2 separate regions of the Homo sapiens genome follow, and region 1 is linked to region 2. The links are contacts of gene promoters, found by promoter capture Hi-C in human tissues and cell types (Jung and others, 2019). All regions are on one chromosome and are shown on one strand. Each heading gives the region's core, a stretch centred on a gene start or on the middle of the fragment in contact. The rest is flanking DNA. Distances are from core to core; before and after follow the strand shown.

Region 1 (2,700 bases), core at 171-2,670, 220 kb before region 2:
CCTTTCAGTTAAACTCTAGGTCTCAGTTTAAGTACTACTTCTCTTAGGAAGCTCCCCACCCTCTAAATCTGGGAATACAAATCCTTTCCATACACCCTCCACTCCTACTCTCATTAACACAATATTTTAATTATCTGATTAAGGATCTCATATCTTCTTGTTGTTAATGTTATTAAGATATTATGTTATTAATAATAATTAACAACACTATTAATATGCACTGTTAACATTATCTTGTTTAAATCTTATACTTTTTTAGGTTACCACATATTTCATTGATACTTTGTTTATACTTTACGCTTATCTTTTTGTTGTACTTTAGTTCTTGTAACAACTTTGTGAGGTAGATCCTATCCCCATTTTACAGATGAAGATACCATATCTTCATATCTGGCATAAACATGTTCAATAAGTATTTGTTAAATGAGTAATCATTGGGGGTGGAGGAAGTACAGAGTTTCACATCAGCTCTTATGACAAATTATCACCTGGAGTGCTCTAGTTGGTCCATCTGGGATGACTCTGATGGATAACATTCCAGAACCAGGTCTCATTTTTTGATTAATAAATTGTTGTTCAGGTGGAACTGGCCCCAAAAGCTCCATGGAAGTGTCAGGACCAAGAACAACTTCAGCTCCATCAAACAAACCAGAAAGTCCTCCTTTGGCCTAAAAGACATTGGAGTAGAGACATGTGAGAAAAGACAGAGGCACTGACTTTGACAAGTTAACACATCATTTCAAACAAGTTCCTAAATTTACATTCTCCTCTGGAGGGTCATGATCAATGTGCAACAAAGCCTTTACTATTTGTTCAGCTTTGCAGATGATGAAAAACAGGAGAATTACTTCAGTAAGATGAAAAGTTATGCTCATAAATTTTGGTAATTATGAATAAGAGATAATTTCATGCATAGATCAGTTTAATTCTGCCTTTTACTAGTACTAACTTCTTGTCATTAAAATAAACTTCTAAAAAAGTAGCCAAAACTAGCTGTTTCTTTGAGTATTCTTACTAGGGTTTGCTTAAAAATCTGAAATATTCTGAAAATAGAAAATAATTATTATAATCATTCAGCTTTCCAGTAAGAGGAAAATTCTTGAGTTGAAAACCTCCCCAAACAGGCCTATGGCTGGACAACCAATCCAAATACTCAAAAGATGGTGTTTCTTCTAGAATGGAATACAGAGTTGAGAATGTCACCTGATACCCAGTTATTCAGGCTGTTAAAAGAAAAACTTCAAGCCAGGCGAGGTGGCTCAGCCTGTAATCCCAGCACTTCGGGAGGCCAAGGCGGGCGAATCATCTGAGGTCAGGAGTTTGAGACCAGCCTGGTCAACATGGTGAAACCCTATCTCTACTAAAAATACAAAAATTAGCCAGGCATGGTTGCAGGCAACTGTAATCCCAGCTACTCAGGAGGCTGAGGCAGGAGAATCGCTTGAGCCCGGGAGGCGGAGGTTGCAGTGAACTGAGATTGTGCTATTGTACTCCAGCCCGGGCAACAAGAGCGACACTTTGTCAAAAGAAAAGAAAAGAGGAAAAGGAAAAAGAAAGAAAGAAAAAGAAAGAAAGAGAGAGAAGAAAGGGAAGAAAGAAAGAAAGAAAGAGAAAGAAAGGAAGGAAGGAAGGAAGAAAGGAAGGAAGGAGAGAGAGAGAGAGAAAGAAAGAAAGAAAGAAAGAAAGAAAGAAAGAAAGAAAGAAAGAAAGAAAGAAAGAAAAGAAAAGAAAGAAAAAGAAAAAAAGACAGACTGACTGACTTCAGCCGAATTAAATTTAAAGGGGTTTAATTGAGCAATGAACAATTCACAAATCAGGCAGCCTCCAGAATCACAGCAGATTCAGAGAGACTCCAGGGATGCCTCGTGGTCAGAACAAATTTATAGACAAAGAAAGGGAAGTGATGTACAGAAGTTGGAAGTAAACAGCTGGATTGGTTACAGGTTGGCGTCTGCCTTATTTGAACACAGTCTGAACACTCAGCCATCTGTGAGTGGTGGAAGTATGGCTGCTGTGACTGGCCAAGTCTCAGCTATTGTTACAGGCACATACTCCTAAGTAAGGATTTCAATCTTGCCTGCCGATTACTCTAGGTTACAGTTGGTCCACAGGGATTCAATTATAGAAGTACGGAGTCCTTCTCAGGCCATATTTAGTTTGCTTTAACAAGGCCTTTGGAGGAAAACACCTTGCTACATGCCCCAAGTAAATCGAGTCTACAGGATTATGGCTGTGGGAAAGCAAACACAAGGCTAGAGAAGACAATGGCAAAGAGTGTCTAAATCCCCTTTGTTAACTTTTAAATATTGACTCATGAAAAGCAAACTTTGAGCAGGGTTTATAGTACAGGTTTCAACACAAAGAAAGCTTTTTATAGCTATTATAAGTTTAGAAAGAAAGAGCATATACAACCTAATAAGAGCAGTGTCAGAAAATGTTTTAATGTCTTCAATGACTTTATTCAGCATAATAAGATTGAAACAAGCTTACTTCCCTAACCAAAACACATTCTGCTCTGCTGAATACTGTTATTATACTGTCACTAACAAGCAGGGAAATGATGAAATAGATTCACAAAACAACAAACACCAAAAAAAGATTTTAAGGAAGAAAATGCTCCAAGAGCATTGGAATTACATGGGCTTTAGAAACAAACTAGAAGTGAAGTCAGGGTCAGACATGAAACCCACCAATTATAAC
Region 2 (2,700 bases), core at 167-2,666:
AGGACCCACTCCTGACACCCACTGTCGGTGAGTCAATTCTAGTCTGACAGCCCCCATCTTCCACCCACAAGAACTGGACTCTCTGGCCTCAGATCAACAAGTCACCTTATGTCACCACAGAAGCCAGTGCCACCTCCCACCTTCCTCCTCGGTCAAGATGTCAGATGGGGGCAGATGGGCCATGTGTCCATCAGGGGCGGCTCTGAGGAAGGATGAACGCCCACCTTCCCCGCAGCCTCAGGGCACAGGGGCCGAAGGCAGGAGAGGCCCCCTTTGGAGGAAGAGTTCCCCCCAGACCCTTCCATGAAATACAAGTTCTCTGAGCCTCAGTTTTCCTTCTCTAAAAAATGGTTTATCTTATCTTACCAAACCATGGAGACAGTAAAACAAAAATGGGGTTATCCTATGTTACCAGACCAGGAGACAGTCAAAAACAGGCAAAGGGTGCACAGTCCCTTGTACGCCCGTTGCTACTGTGGGAGTGACGTTCATATTGAATAGGAGCCCTAGGGTTTCTGCTGTCTCCATTTTCCTGCGGCCCCCGGAGACTTCATTTGCCTTGCTCGATTACCAGCCCAGACCTCCCTCGCTTGCCCTGTCCCCAGAGGCCGCAGAAAACAGACTCTGCAGTAGCCCCCGGACGCATCGGAGGAAGCAGACAGGCAGCTCGCCCTCCAGCTGTGCCCTCAGTGGACCTGACACACACCTGGTCCTGCTCTTCAGACACAGGACCCTGGTATTTCTAAGAAATCGGAAAACCGTCGCCCAGAGGAAAAGGAAGTCTTTTGAAGAGGGTGCCCGGCGTGGGCAGTGGGGCAGCGCCCCGGCACAGCCCCTTCTCCACCGCGTGGGAGGGAAGGGCTGTCGCGGCAGTCGCCGGGGTGAGGGAAGAGGGGTCCCGGGTCTAGCGGGGGTCTGCCCAGGACCCGCTGCTCAGCCCCAAATGCCCCGGCCTGCGCTCGCGGAGGAACCAGGGTGCGCCCCTGTCACGACGCGGGTAAGAGGGGCTTCGGGGGCCAGAGTTGTGCCCCGAGCGCACGTGTGCCGGGCCCGGAGTCCCCAGCGGGTCCCCAGAGGCGCGCGTGTCTGATGCGGATGGGGGGCGGCGACTGGGACTCCCAGCCTCCCAGCCCGTGACAGCGCCCCGGGAGAGCGCGGCCCGGGCACCCGAAGGCTGCGCACCAGCCGGGTGGACATGCGGGGCGGCTGTCCCCCGTGGGCCGCGCGAGTCACCCACCTGGGCGGGCAAGGCGTGCGCCGCAGCCCAGAGCTCCAGTCCGACGGCCAGCGCGGCCCAGACGGCGACGGGCGCCATGGGTGCGGGCGGGGTCCGGTTGCCCCCTGCCCTCGCGCCCTCGCGCCCTCGCAGCCCAGCGCCTTCTCTCCAGGCTCCGCTGCGCTCGCTAGCCCTCGACTGAAAGCGAAAGCCCGCGCCCCAGCGGGCCAGAGGCCAGGCGGCGGGGCGGGGCGGGGCCAGCCGGCCTTGGACACGCCTCCCCCACGCCCCTCCCCAGACGCTGCTGGGCCTCCGACCCGACCACTCCAGCATCGCTGGGCCGATACCTCCAGCGTCACTCCCAGCACTCGGGTGACCCCTCAACCTCCTCCTATCGTCCCCTCCTCTTCGAATCACCATCTCCACCTGCCCGGCCTCCACCTGCCCGGCCTCCACCTGCCCTCCCAGCTCCCACAGGCTTCCCTGTCCCGTGAGGGTGAGGCACTAATTTGGAAAAACATCCCCCAAAGCTGACAGCTGCTTTAGGGGAACCAAGAGAATTCTAGATCATTCACTTATTTAGACTCTATTTTAAATATATTTAATTCTTATTTTTTAATTTTTTTTGAGACAAGGTCTCACTCTTTCACCCATAGCTCACTGCAGCCTCCAACTCCTGCGCTCAAGCGATCCTCCCACCTCAGCCTCCCGAGTAGCTGGGACTACAGGCTCGGGCCACCATGCTAGGCTGATTTCTTTATAGAGATGGGGTTTCGCCATGTTGTCCAGGCTGGTCTCGAACTCCTGAGCTCACGTGTTCTTCCCACCCTCAAGTGATCTTCCCGCCTCTGGCCTCCCAAGGTGCTGGGATTATAGGTGTGAGCCACTGCACTCGGCCTGTTTAGACTCTAGAGCCAGACCACCTGGGTCTGGATCTCTGAACTGACCTCATAGGACTATTCTAAAAATTTAAAGATATGTAATATACATAATGCAGTCTGTACTTTATATATACTTAAGTAAGTATCTACATATATAACAATAGGCATTTATAAATCTTGGCTGTTGTTACTACTCTTCGCGTGTTCATTTATCCTTAAACACGCATCCAGCCTTCTCACAGGGAGAAGACTCTGCACTTCCCTGCTCAAGTCTCCTGCCCAGGCAGGGGGCAGATGAACAGAGGCTGGGAGAGAATGTCACCAGGGAAGCTGCAGGGCCCTGAGGGGCTGCTGAGACCAGGCCCAGGAGAGCTGGCTTCCCCAGGATTTACATCATGACCGAGCACCCATTCCAGCTGCAATCTGTCCCCCCATCCCCACTTTGAGTGCCAGCCCTAATACAGGGCCAGCCCTGCGGGGCCAGAGCACATTCCTCCAGCCCTGGATTACGGGGGTCCTAGCCCCCAGCACATAGGGCATTTCTAAGGGTTGGGGTGGGCTGGGTGGCAGGAGGCTATTCTGTTCCCTGTTTCCTCACTGCAG

The links. Contacts are between HindIII fragments. The study calls those that stand out against the background at their distance.
Region 1: a contact is called between a fragment that was not itself captured here and the fragment with the promoter of TNFRSF1B in region 2, in 1 of the 25 tissues and cell types used here (liver).

The regions. Positions count from the first base shown.
Region 1 is chr1:12,380,944-12,383,643 of GRCh38, reverse strand. It overlaps VPS13D (vacuolar protein sorting 13 homolog D), which reads right to left. Exons shown (of 70, transcript NM_015378.4): 58 at 489-668. Among named protein-coding and RNA genes, the nearest start is that of SNORA59A, 120 kb to the left of the region's middle. The HindIII fragment of the contact is 4,520 bases long and covers 1-2,700 here.
Region 2 is chr1:12,165,707-12,168,406 of GRCh38, reverse strand. It overlaps TNFRSF1B (TNF receptor superfamily member 1B), which reads right to left and starts at 1,416. Exons shown (of 10, transcript NM_001066.3): 1 at 1,238-1,416. The coding sequence starts at 1,315. MIR7846 (microRNA 7846) reads right to left here and starts at 1,464; the gene lies at 1,369-1,464. RefSeq lists an enhancer at 349-990 and silencers at 1,031-1,260, 1,271-1,580. The HindIII fragment of the contact is 11,494 bases long and covers 1-2,700 here.